Regions from separate parts of the Homo sapiens genome. Here region 2 is linked to region 1. Evidence: promoter capture Hi-C in human tissues and cell types (Jung and others, 2019). All regions are on one chromosome and are shown on one strand. The core of a region is centred on a gene start or on the middle of the fragment in contact, and the rest is flanking DNA. Distances in the headings are between cores, read along the strand shown. Region 1 holds the start of EFNA2 (ephrin A2). Region 2 holds the start of MEX3D (mex-3 RNA binding family member D).

What was found. Contacts are between HindIII fragments. The study calls those that stand out against the background at their distance.
Region 2: a contact is called between the fragment with the promoter of MEX3D here and the fragment with the promoter of EFNA2 in region 1, in 3 of the 25 tissues and cell types used here (dorsolateral prefrontal cortex, lymphoblastoid cells and spleen).

What each region holds. Positions count from the first base shown.
Region 1 is chr19:1,282,610-1,289,051 of GRCh38, forward strand. EFNA2 (ephrin A2) reads left to right here and starts at 3,264. Exons shown (of 4, transcript NM_001405.4): 1 at 3,264-3,699. The coding sequence starts at 3,560. RefSeq lists enhancers at 1-824, 2,348-2,848, 2,849-3,349, 5,354-5,940. The HindIII fragment of the contact is 32,397 bases long and covers 1,128-6,442 here.
Region 2 is chr19:1,564,480-1,570,921 of GRCh38, forward strand. It overlaps MEX3D (mex-3 RNA binding family member D), which reads right to left and starts at 3,846. Exons shown (of 2, transcript NM_203304.4): 1 at 2,985-3,846. The coding sequence starts at 3,579. It also overlaps the pseudogene RN7SL477P. RefSeq lists silencers at 3,846-4,035, 4,076-4,125. The HindIII fragment of the contact is 18,806 bases long and covers 1-6,442 here.

The DNA.
Region 1 (6,442 bases), core at 2,014-4,513:
GGAGGGAGGGAGGGGAGGAGGGAGGGAGGAGGGTGTGAAGGGAGGAGGGAGGGAGGAGGGTGTGAAGGGAGGAGGGAGGGAGGGGAGGAGGGAGGGAGGAGAGTGTGAAGAGAGGAGAATGGGAAGGATGGGAGCTGGGGAGGAGGGAGGAGGGTGAGCTGGGAATGGGGCTGTGTGCCTGCTCTTTTCCACCACTGGCTGCAGGGGTTGCAGGAATCTTGGGTCCATGGCTGGATGGGGGTGGGGATTTTCATGTTACCCACTGGAGAAAGGGATACATTTTTATTTTCAAGGACAGCGACCCAGCCCAGGGGAAACGCCCCTGGCCCCTGGGGCTAAGCGCAGACCCCAGCTCCGTGCTTCGCAGGTGGGGGGCGATGGACAGCGGTGGGGCTCCCGCCCTGAGTGGAGCCTGTGACCTGCCCGGGCCCCAGCGCCCCGTGACCCCTGCCGCCTGATCCTTGCCTGGCTGAGATGGGGCTTCTGAAGGCTGCCGGCACCAGGGCAGGCAGCGCATTGGGTCCAATTTATTCTGTAATGAGAAATTCTCCCCGCATATTTTTAGCTTCCTCCTGGCGTCGCGGCCTTTGAAGGCTGAGGGGCTGCGGGACGCTGATCCCAAGCCCTGTGGCCTGGCCATGTGGGCAGTGGGTGCTGGGCACGGGCTGGACAAGTCCCTTCCTGAGTCTGGGTAGACCCCAGTCCCAGCAGTGCAGAGCAGGGGGCGGGGCCAGACCCCATCAAGCCCTGTACTGGCTCCAGACCAGGGACTGAGGGCGACCCTGGATAACCCCTGACCTTGGCGGACACCTGTTCCCAGAGTGAGCCTGATTTCTGACCCTTGGCTCCACAGGAAGCTTACTCTAGAGTGACCTCCGGCCGCGGCTGCGTCCCAAAGCCGGGACAGCTCCCAGCCCCAGGAGGGAACAGGGCTTCTTGGACCCCCACAGTGGCCCCCCTGCCAGGCAGGGGTTTGCCGGGGCAGCCTCGCCCAGGGCCAGGCCTCGGAGACGCCCTGCCCTCCCCTCCCTTCCCCAGGTCCTTCCTCTAGGAGCGGCCAGCGGGCGCGGGGAGGTTGAATGGGGGACGCACCGCCTTTGTTCCCGTCCCTGCTTGGGCTCTGACCTTGAGAGAGACAAGAACAGAAGGAAAACGGAGCTTCTGCTCAAATCCGTTCAGCGGTGGCGGTGGTGGCGGCTCTCGCCTCGGTGGCCCCTGCATGCAAATGAGTGGCCCTGCCATGCCTGGGTGGAGGTGGTGCCCTTCCAGCTCCCACCTGTGCAGGTCCCAGTCCTGGTTTGAGAAGAGACCCCCTCCTCCCGACCCTGGCCCACCCCTCCTCACCCACGAGATCCCTTGAAGCAGGAGGGGGCTTCTGGTCCCAGGGTAGAAGGAAGCTTCCAGAACTCCCACCTTTGCCAGGTGGCATGCTGGGGCCGGGCACGCCAAGACCCCAGGCTCACGGCCCCTTGTCCTGTGCTTGGGTGCAGCCGCCACACTCTGCTCCGAAAGTGCTCACCTCCGGGAGTGGCCGTCCCCCTCCCTAAAAGAGCCCCCCACCAGACGGAGCCGCCCGGGAAGCTTCTCCAGCCTGTCTGGGCTACAGAGCCTTGTGTGGCTAGAACCCAAGGCCCTCACTCCAGGGGTGCTGAGAGAGCCTGTCCAGAGGGCCTGCCTCAGCCACCACCTGGGACAGGTTCACGCCCTCCACTGAAGAGACACCCGGCCAGCCCTGGGCCTTCGACCTGGGACGTCTGTAGTGGGGTCAGGGGATGAGACCTGGAGCTCAGAACAGACGGGCTGAGCTCCCTGGAGGAGAGAGAACTGAGAACCTTGTCCTGGCAGGGACGCTAGAGCACTGGGTGGGACAGACCTTTCTGGAAGAGCAAGATTTTAACAGGAAGAAAAAGTGGAAGGACTTCCCAGCAGGACCCAGCCTGAACAAAGGTCAGGTGGTGTGGCCCGCGTGGCCCGCTGGGGAATCGGGGGAGGAGGGCACGCAGGAGACACAGGACAGAGCCCACCACGTCTCAGAGCTGTGGGACGGTGGTGGGTCCGGTCCCCACCCCACCTTGCTGGGGCACAGGTTAGCTTGCCCATCTCTGGGTTCACGGTCCCTGCCAGGAGTTTGGGTAATGCCTCACACAGGGACCTTCGGGTCCAAGGGCTGTTGGTGCTTGCCCTGCAGTTCCCTCTCCTGCACTGGGCCTGGTGAATGACACTAATTCAGAGACGTACAACACGATCTGGGCATCGCCAGCAAAGTCCAGCCAGCGTTTGATGACAGCCTACCCTCCACAAGCTCAGAGTCTGGTGAGGGAGGCTGTGGCATGAATAAGGGCAAAAACAGAGGGCAGGCCAGGTGCAGTGGCTCACGCCTGTAATCCTAGCACTTTGGGAAGCCCAGGTGGGAAGATCGCCTGAGCCCAGGAGTTCAAGACCAGCGTGGCCAACATGGCCAGACACTGTCTCTATAGATTGGAAAAAAGACAAAGCAGAGGCCAGGCCCCCAGTTCCCCACCTGTGTCAGCCTACCAGGAGGAGAAATCACTCGGCGTTCCCTGAACAGATCAGACCCCGGGTCTTTGCACAAGCTGTGCCCCCGGGCAGCGGCCCTCCCCTGCCTGCAGGATTCGTGCGTGGAGACTGATTTGCTGTCGGCCGGGGCTTCACTCTGGGCTTCTTGGATCCCATCCCCAGCTGCTCACACTCCACATCGGTCCACCTACTATGCTCCCGGCACCCTTAGGGCTGAGGTGTAGGGACTTACTCCATCCCCAGGGAACAGCGTGGGTCCGGAGAGGCGACTCCCAGGAGGGCCCCAGGGAGGTCGCAGCCCGAGCAGCTTTGGACTTTGGCCAGCGCCCCTCTGAAACTCTGCCCCGGCCCCCGCAGGGAGACTGGAGTTGGCCGAGCCCGATTTGGGACGCGTGCGTCGGGGTTGGTGAGGCTGCGGATAGCGCTGGAACCGGGCAGGTGAGAGGCCCGGGACCCAGGGCCGGGCCGGGTGGAGCGCGTGGGGGCGCGGGAGGCAGGGTGCGCCCCCGCCCCTCGGAGACCCCAGGCCGGGCCACGCGGATGCCGGCGGGGGGCGCGCAGAATCGGGGTCGCTGGGGGCAGGCCCCGGGGGACGAGCCTGAGACGGGGTGGGCCGGGGCAGGGGGCGGGCGCAGGCTGGAGACCCCCGCCCAGTCCCCGCGCGGCCGGGGCACGGCGGGAGGGGGCGCCCGCGGCCCTCCCGACGCTCGGGCGGGACAAAGGCCGGAGCCCGGGCCCCTCCCCGGCGGGTGCGGCGGCGGCGGCCCGCGCTCCGACAGTCCGCGCGGCCGGGTCCTGCGCCCGGGGCGACCCCGGCGCCCCGCCCCGCCGCCGCCTGACTTCTCGGCGCCCGAGGTCGCGCGCGCGGAGGCGGGGGCGGCCCGGGATCTCCAAGCGCCGCCGCGCCCTCCTCCCGCCCGCCCTCCGCCCGCCCGCTCGGCGGCGGCGGCGGCGGCGGAGGAGGCGGAGAAGGCTGGCAGGCGGCGGCCGGGAGAGCGAGCGCGGCGGCCGGACCGGGGCCATGGCGCCCGCGCAGCGCCCGCTGCTCCCGCTGCTGCTCCTGCTGTTACCGCTGCCGCCGCCGCCCTTCGCGCGCGCCGAGGACGCCGCCCGCGCCAACTCGGACCGCTACGCCGTCTACTGGAACCGCAGCAACCCCAGGTGAGCGCGGCCGCGCGCGGGGGGCGCCCGGGGACCCCCCAACGCCCCCCAAGCCGCGCCCGGCCTCGCGCCCCCGGAGCTCCGGGCGCCCCCCACGCGCGCGCCGCCGCCGGGATGCGGGCGCCCGGTTCCCGCGGGAGCCCCCCAGGGAGCTCCGGCCCCCCGGAGTTTGGGGGACTCGCCCTTTTCGCGCCTGCCTTCCCCGGGGCGCCCCATTGCCCTACGGACTGTGGGGACTCGCGCCCCACATCCCCCAGAGCGCCGACGTCTCCTGGAGTTTGGGGAACCCCTCTGGTACCCTCCGATGCCGGGTAGCCCCTGAGTTGCCTGCCTGGACTTGGGGGGACCCCTGATCCACCCGCTTCTCTGGGGAGCCCCCTCGGTTTCGCATTTGGTGGGGATCCCCGGGGACCTTGGCACCGGAGGTGGGGGACTGTGGCCCTCGAGGGATCTCTGGGTTCGTCCTGCCCGCAGGTCCCCAGATGAACTTGGGGAAGTTGGAGTGTCCCTCCCTCAGGACCCAGCATCTGCTTCACTCCAGGGGGCCAAGGGCCCAGCTTTGAAAGGAGACTGAGGGGCCGGGGAGCTGGGGGTCAGCCCCGGGAGGGGCAGTGGGATGGAGTCCTCTCTTGTCCTCTGGGCGCTGACCAGGAAACTGAGGTGCAGAGGGGATGAGGAGCTGGCTCAAGGTCATGCAAGGGGGGGACTTGGGGGCAGGACCCAGGTGGCCCAGTGCCCTGCCTGCCACGCCCGGCCGAGATGCCGCACCCGCCTGCTGCAGGCCCCCTTGTTTTGAACCAGGTCCGGGCCAGGCACAACGTGGGGGACAGGAGAAGCCCCCGTTGGTCAGAGCAAAAAAAGTTTGCCGGGGCCTGGCCATGGCCTGGACGTGGGTAGAACCCTCTGAACCATCCCAGGGTCTCCAAGACAGGAGCAGGCTGCAGCTTCCCTGGGGGTCCCGTGGGAGCCGGGGCTTTGGGGGTCCTGGGGCTCGGGAGGGAGTCAGCCCCAGCACTCAGGGTGTCACCGTCTTCCTAAGGCACACGGAGCTGCACATCGGGGGCTGAGGCGGCCCCCCCCCACTCTTCTGCTACTGGTCACTTTCTCTCCGTTTTCCAGCCGCTTCCTGTGCCGACCGAGCCGCCCTCTGGAGCCCGCCACCCCTCCTTGTCCCCTCTGTCTCCTGCTGTCCTCGGTCCCCGGGAGGAAAGTTGCATGAAGGGGTCTCTTTGAGGCGGGCTCGGGGACAAGGGCGGCCCGTGTTCCGCCGTGGGGGTGGGGAACACGCACAGGCCCACCCCCCACCCTGGTCAACGGCCTCGGGTCGGGCCCTGGGGGCTGAGGGCAGGGACCCCGGGCCGCTGGGGGACGGCTGGCCCACCTCAGAGCGGGTCCCCGAGCCGCCCGCTGTGCTGGTCACATGTGGGTTTGATTAAGGCTGTCGCTGGCCGTGCGGGGAGTCCAGCGGGCAGCGCTTCCCCGGCCCAAGTTTTTGGTTTCAGCTGCGGAATCTCCCGTCCCCAGCGTGGCCTGTCCTTTGTTCTAGCAAACGCCAAACACACGAGGACCCGGCAACCGGGGGAGGAAGGTGGTCACCAGGGCCGTCCTGCTGCCCCACCTGCCACAGGGCTGTGGGCTGCGGGCCGGACCCCCGGCCAGGGGAAGGAAGTGGCCTCCCCAGTGCCTGGCTTGGCCCAGCCACCTCCTGTTGCTCCGGGTCTGACCTGGTTGCCCAGCTCAAACCGCTGCCTGAGGGAACGGCCTTGCTGGTCCGCAGAGCCGACCTGGGCAGCACCGAGGCTGCCTCCTCCTTCCTCTCCTGCCTGCGGTATCCAGGGTTGCTGGGGACGGAGCCGACACCCTGCAGTGGGGCCCAGGGCTGGGTGAGCACCTTCCCGGGAAGCCGGGATCCAGCCAGAATCAGGGCTTTGTCGCGGACATCAGGGGTCTCTGCAGTTCTCAGATTTGGTGTCCAGGGGCACCTGCCCGGGACCTGTGCCTGAGTGGCGGGGGTGTCAGGCACAGCAGGGGGTGGTGCTGGGCCTCCGTATCCAAGGGGACCCTGTGGAGGGGACATCGGCTTGGGGAGAGGAGTGGCGTCAGCCGGCAGGCCTAAGGTGTGAGGCTGGGCTGGCCGGGGAGGGATGATGGGGTCGGGCAGGTGTGTGGGGGATGCGGGGACCCCAAGTCTTTGAGAGGGGCATACAGAAAGGCACTGGAGACGGGGACAGCCGCGATGGGGGGCAGACAGCAGCGTGGGCACCAGGGGACCGTGTGCTCGATGGGGCCTGCAGGCCCGGGCAGTGCCGCAGCGTCGCCGGCCGCCCCTTCCGCCCATTGGCCTGGCACCTGTGCCCAGGCGATGACTGTGTGGTCTGTCTCCACATCACACCCTCTCTGCTGTGAGAGGCGATGCCTGCACCCAGGGGACCCCGCACCCACCTCCTTGGGCCGCTATAAGGTGGGGCCCCGTTGGGTGGTCTGGCTGGCCGGCCCCGCCACTCCCACCGGTGACTGCACAGCGTCCGTCCAACCCACTCCCCAACCTGGGCTGGGTACCCCTGAGCTGGCCGCCAGGAGTCTCTGGGCCTGTTCCCAGCCGACCCGCATCGGGCTGGGGCGTCCAGGGCTTGGACCTGGCCGGCTGCCCTCACCTGTCCTGTTGGACCTGGCCGGCTGCCCTCACCTGTCCTGGCCACAACACCGCGTGTGCATTCCCACGGCTGCTCATGTGTGTTTGCGT
Region 2 (6,442 bases), core at 2,596-5,095, 280 kb after region 1:
CCGGGATCGTGCCATTGCACTCCAGCCTGGGCAACAGAGCGAGACTCCATCCCAAAAAAAAAAAAAAAAAAAGATATAGCAAATGAATGAACTGGAGCCTCCAGCAGATGGGTGGGAACTCAGAGGGTTTGAATGACCACAGTCTGCCCAGAAAGCACTCGGACCCCCTCTAGGATCAAGAGAACTGAAGCTCAGAGAACAGCACGTAGCTACTGGGGAGAGGGCTGGTGCCAGGCCTGTGTGACTCTTGTCTAGGTGGGGAGGCCGGACAGGTGCACCCTTCCTGGCCTCCAGGGAAGGGGTAACCTTGGAGCTTGGGTTTGACAGAGAAGCATGAGAAGTTCAGAGAGCCCCAGGGTGGAGAGGAAGGTGAGTAAAGGGGCAGGGCCGGGGCACAAAGGACATTGAAAGGTATGCTTGAGAACGGGGTGGGTGGGAGAAGCTGGGAGCCACAGATGGTTCTACAGTGTGGAAGAAGTACAGACTACCGAAGCTGTGGAAGACGTAAGGACTACTGAAGCTGCCAACCTGTCCTGGCATCCACAGTTGCATCCCTGGCAACGCGCACTCCACTTATGGGGTGGCCACTGTGTGTGACCTGGAGCTGGGATTAAAACCAGCAACTTGGGTCCAGGCATAGTGGCTCACACCTGTAGGAACCCCAGCACTTTGGGTGGCTGAGGATCGCTTGAGGCCAGGAGTTCAAGACCAGCCTGAGCAACAGAGCAAGACCCTGTCTCTACAAGAAAAACTTTATAATAAAAACAAATAAATAAAACTGGCCGTGCGCAGTGGCTCACGCCTGTAATCTCAGCACTTTGGGAGGTGGAGGTGGGCGGATCACTTGAGGTCGGGAGTTCGAGACCAGCCTGGACAACATGGTGAAACCCCGTCTCTACTAAAAATACAAAAATCAGCTGAGCGTGGTGGCTCACACTTGTAATCCCAGCTACTCAGGAGGCTGAGGCAGGAGAACTGCTTGAAACCAGAAGGCGGAGTTTGCAGTGAGCCCAGATCACGTCACTGCACTCCAGCCTGGGCGACAGAGCGAAACTCCGTCTCATAAATAAATAAATAAAACCAGCATCTTGCCCCAGAATCCTCTACCCTAATGGAGGTGAGACGTCCGCACATCACAGAGAGGGGCCGTCATCTGCGCAGGGCCACGGCGGCCTGCAGGACAAGCAATCAGGGCCCACTCTACCCCCGACCCCCACTGTACCCCAGGGCCTGCCTTGCTGACGGCCACCAGCAAGAGCCCAGTAAGTGGGTGCAGAACGCACAGGCCAGAGGTGGGGGCTGAGCCTGGTGCCCACAGACTCCATTTCCCATGGACCTGCCCCTAGAGAATTCCCACCCTGAGGCCACAGGTCTAGAAGCTCTCAGCCTGACGCTGATTCCTGCCAGCTCCCCATGTGGCCATAGCCTCGCTCAAAGGCCCTTGGGTGCCAGGACAAGCGCGTTCACAAAGAACACAGCCACAGCCTCCACCACCTGGAGGCTCAGGCTCGTGCCTTTGGTCACTTGGTCCCCAGGCCTCGGCTTGGACGCCTGTCTCCACAGGCTCCCAGACACTCCGCACAGGGCAGCTGTCCCGTTCTAGGCCCTGGGTATGGGACATGGAGGCCGGGTGGAAGGCCTCAATGGGGAGGCAGTAACAGGATGGTAGGGCGCCCTCCTGCCAGGGGGTCCCACCAAGGGCAGCCAGCAGGACTGAGACAGAACCCAGTCCCTCCCCACCCACCACTCCAGAGCATGCTTCCTGGGGCCAGCACCATGCCTGACCCTCCGTGGGTCCCCACATGAGCTGGACAAATGAACGACCAAAAGACAGGAGGCTGTGGTGCCCCACCCACCTGGACCGAGGGAAAGGGCGGAGGGGAGGGCGCCCTGGTGGTCCCCCGCCTGAGGCCAGGGCCATAGATGACCTTGCAATCCCAGCCCCCCACACCTTTCTCTGGCCTGGATTCCCGAGGGCCCCGGGGAGGCAGGGACCCCCAGCCCAAGTGTCCTGCGGCCCCACCACCAGCCCCGCCAAGGCCCCACCCCAAGTTCTAGAACCTGGCTGATCACTGGCGGTCAGCGGGGACCCAGGAGCGGGGAGGGGTGGCGGGAAGGCAGGAGAAAGTTGAGGGAGGCAGGCGGGCGGGTGGCTAACGGGGTGGTGGGTGTGAGCTGGGCCAGGCACTGCCCACCACCCGCCCGCCCGCCCCGCAGCTCGGGGGCCAATGAGCAGCGGCCGGCCTGATGTCACCCTGCAAATCTCAGCCTCGCTCTCTAACAAAGAGAACAATGGGGCGGCCAGAGGGAAGCTCCGACGATGCCACCGCTGGACCCCACACCCGGGGCCTGCCGCCCGCCGGCCTGCCCAGCAGGCTGCACCCCAGAAGTGGCTTTGACAGCCGGTCCTTCCCCAGGCCCCGAAATCCCTGACTCGGGGCCAGAGAGTGGAGCAGGGACCCTCTCCTGCCCGGTCCCGTCCCCACCCCAGTCAGGGCCCCAGGCTGGAGACTGAGACGTGCGCTCTTTGTACTGTCAGCCTTCTCTCCCGGTCCTGCAGGCGGCCCCCCTAAGCCACCCCTAAACCTGCGCTTGCCCCGCCCCGCCGCCTGTGCTGGGTGTGGGGCGCCCCCCGCCCGGCCGGAGCCCCGGGCCCTCGAGCCCCTCTCTGGGGTGCCCCTGCGGGCGGCCGAGGGCCTGGGCTGCGGCGCGGCTCCCCGGAGCCTTTCCGGGCTGGAGGCGGCCCAGACAAAGGCGGCGGCGGGGCCGGAGCGCGCAGGGGAGGAGCGCGGGCTGCGCCCAACTTTCTCCCGCGGCGGCTGCAGGACAAAGGCGCAAAGGCAGCGGCCGAGGCCGGAGCCCACGCGGGGCGTGTCCGGTGCGGGGCGTCCGGCGCGGGCTGGGCTGGGCTCGGGCGACCCCCTTCCCCGGGGCGGACGGTGCGGGGACCCCCAGGACAGCAACCCCCGACGAGGGCCACTCACCCTGGCGACCCACGATCTCGGCGACGTGCTCGGAGCTGGGCACCGGGACGCACTCGGTCATGTTGACGCTTTTCTTGCGGCTGCCGATCACGCTCATCTGGTCGGCCAGCAGCGTCGGGGGCCCCAGGGCCGCGGGGTGGGGCGCGAAGCCCGCGAACACGTCGGGGGGCGACGGCCGGGGCGGCGGCGGCGGCGGGGGACTCGCGTTGGGGTCCAGCAGCGGCAGCGACCCGGGGGCCACGGCGGGGGCCAGGGTCGGGGGCGCGCCGGCCTCAGGTCCGTCGGGGGGCACAGGCTCCGGAGCCGCCCCGCCGTCCGCGCCCCCCGCCGCCGCTGCGCCGTCCCCGGCCGCCCCCTCCTCGTCCGTGTCGCCAGCGCCCCCCAGCCCGAGCGCCGACAGCTGGTCCAGCGCCAGGCGGAGCGCGGCGGCCGCGTCGTCGGGTTCGGGCGGCGGCCGGGGCGCGGGCGCGGCCTCCTGGGCGCCCTCGGGCGGGGGCGCAGGTCCGGGTCCGGGGTCCTCCCCCGCCGCCCCCACGCCGCCGCCGCCGCCGCCCCCGCCCCCGCCGCCGTCGGGCTGGCCGAGCGAGCTGGGCATGGCGGGAGCTAGCGCTGGGGCCCGCGCTCCTGCCGCCCGCGCCGCCGCCGCCGCCCGCGCCGCCCTCCGCCTCTGCGAGCTGGGCCGCCGGCCGCCTGCATCCAGCGGCGGGGGCGGGCACGGGGGGCCGGGCGGGCGGGGCGGCGGCGGCGCGGGGCTGCTCGGGGCCGGGCCGGGCCGGGCCGGGCGGCGGCAGCGACTCTGGCTGCGGCTCGGCGGCGGCGGCGACGGCGGCGGCGGCTCCTCGGCGGCCGAGGCGGCGGCGGCGGCGCGGGACGCTCCTTCCCTCCCGCCGCCTCCCGCGGCCCCGCCCCGGCCCCGCCCCCGCGACGTCACGCCGCGGCCCAACAATGGGCGGCCCCCAGGGCGCAGGCGCGCGGGGCGGGGCCGGGGCGGGGCCGGCGCCGGGCACGTGGTCCAGGCCCCGCCTCCGCCCGGCGCTCGGGCGGGAACCCGGGCGCATCCGCACGTGCGGGCGCTGCTGCAGGTGTGTGCGGCTCAGCCCCTGCCTGGACAGCGCTCCCTCCCCAAGCCTGAGAGTCCCTGCCTCGCGCGCCCCAGGGCCCGAGGTCCCGCTCCCCAATTTCCCCTAGAGATCCGGGTCGCCCCCAAGCGAGGTCTCTTGCTCCACGCCCGCTTCCTTGTGCCAGGGACCCCCACCTCCCTGCATAAAGGCGTGGGGTCCTCTCCAAGTCCCCCTCGCGATCCCACTGGACTTCGAAGTCAGGCTCCTGCCCGCCCACCGCCTCTGTGCCAGGGTCCAACCCCCGCCCCACGGTGCACCCCCCAGGGCCTGGGGTCCCAGTCCCCAAGTACCCCTTGCTATCAGGTGGGCTTTAGGGTCAGGCCCCTGCCCCACCCCCAGCCTCTGTGCCAGGGACAGCTCCACAATCATGCACACCCCAGGGCCTGAGGTCCCTCTCCCCTAGTCTCTCCTAGCTCCCCTCTGGCTGGCTCCCGGCTTTGGGATCAGGCCACCTCCTCCACGCCACCTCCTCCGCCCCACCCAAGGCCACAGACCCGGTCTCTGTGCCCCCAGCCAGAGACCTCTCTACCACAGTGGTGCTTCCATGGCGAGGGCAGGCTCACACCAGCCAGAACCCTCCATGTGGAGCCCCACCCTCTTCTGGGGTGCCTTTCCCCGCAACGGGCGTTGTCCACCTCTAAAGCCACCCTTGCCGGGCGCGGTGGCTCATGCCTGTCATCCCAGCAGTTTGGGAGGCCGAGGCGGGTGGATCACGAGGTCAGGAGTTAGAGACCAGCCTGGCCAACATGGTGAAACCCCCGACTCTACTAAAAATACAAAAATTAGCCAGGCGTGGTGGCGCGCACCTGTAATCCCAGCTACTCAGGAAGCTGAGGCAGGATAATTGCTTGAACCCTGGAGGTGGTGGTTGCAGTGAGTCGAGATTGCACCACTGCACTCCAGCCTGGTTGACAGAGCAAGACTCCTCTCAAAAAAAAAAAAAAAAAAAAAAAATAGCCGCTTTCCCAGCGGCTCTTCCTCCAGCTGTCCTTCGGGGCCTTCCTTGCACCTGTGGGGTTTTTTGTGATAAACCTGTCTGGCTGGGTCTACCTGCCCCCCTCTTCTACCAGACCTGTCCCTGGCTGGCTGTGCAAACTTGGACCGAAGGCAGGGCTCTCTGGGCAGGAGTGGGGCAGCCTGCCCCTTTGCCTAGCAAGGCTTCTCCTCTGTCCCCTCCCCCCGCCTCACACACCCTGGGTCCCCCTCAGCCACTCTTCTAGTCCCTCAGCCACAGCCACCCACTGCTGGGCCCTTCACTTTTGGTGGCTTCTCTGCCCACTTCTTCCAGGCAGGCAGGGTCAGGATCCCCCTGCCTGGAGCCCTTCCCCACCCAAAATCTCTCTCCTGACCCCAGGCTGCATCCAGCCCCACTTCCCCTCCTGGGGTCCTGGACTTCTCTTTCGTGCACGCCCATGCTTGGAATTGTTTTTCTATCTCTCTTTCTTTCTCTCTTTCTTTTTTTCTCTTTCTTTCCTTTTTTTCTTTCTTTCTTCCTTTCTTTCTTTTCTTTTTCTTTCTTTCTCTTTCCTTTCTTTCTCTTTTTTCTTTTCCTTTTCTTTCTTTCCTTTTTTTCTTTCTCTTCCTTTTCTTTTTTCTGTCTTTCTTTCCTTCTTTCTTTTCTTTCTTCTCCTTCCTTCCTTGCTTCCTTCCTTTTCTTTCATCCTTTATTTCGTTCTTCATTTCTTCTTTTCTCTCCCTTCCTTCCTTCCTTCCTTCTTTCTTTCTTTTTTTTTTTTTAGACGGAGTCTCGCTCTGTCACCCAGGTTGGAGTGCAGTGGTGCAGTCTTGGCTCACTGCAAGCTCCGCCTCTGGGTTCACGCCATTCTCCTGTCTCAGCCTCCCGAGTGGCTGGGACTACAGGTGCCTGACGCCACACCCAGCTAATTTTTTGTATTTTTTGTAGAGACAGGGTTTCACCGTATCAACCAGGATTCTCCCTTCCTTCTCTGCTCCCCTCCCCTCTCCTCTCCTTTCCTTTTCTTTCTTTTTCGGACAGAGTCTTGCTCTGTTGCCCAGGCTGGGGTGCAGTGGCTATTCACAGGTGTGACCCCAGGACAGATCAGCATGAGAGCTTTGACCAGCTCCGTCTCTGACTTGGGTAGGTTCAGCCCTCCTTAGGCAACCTGGTGGTCCTCCCAGTCCAGGGAGGTCATCATATTAATGTAGACGCTGGATCAGCATAGCTCACTACAGCTCAGAACTCCCGAGCTCAAGCAATCCTCCCGCCTCAGCCTCCTGAGTAGCTGGGACCACAGGTGTGCACCACCACACCGGGCTACTTTTTGTATTTGTAGAGACAGGGTCCTTTTTGTTGCCCGGGCTAGTCTTGAACTCCTA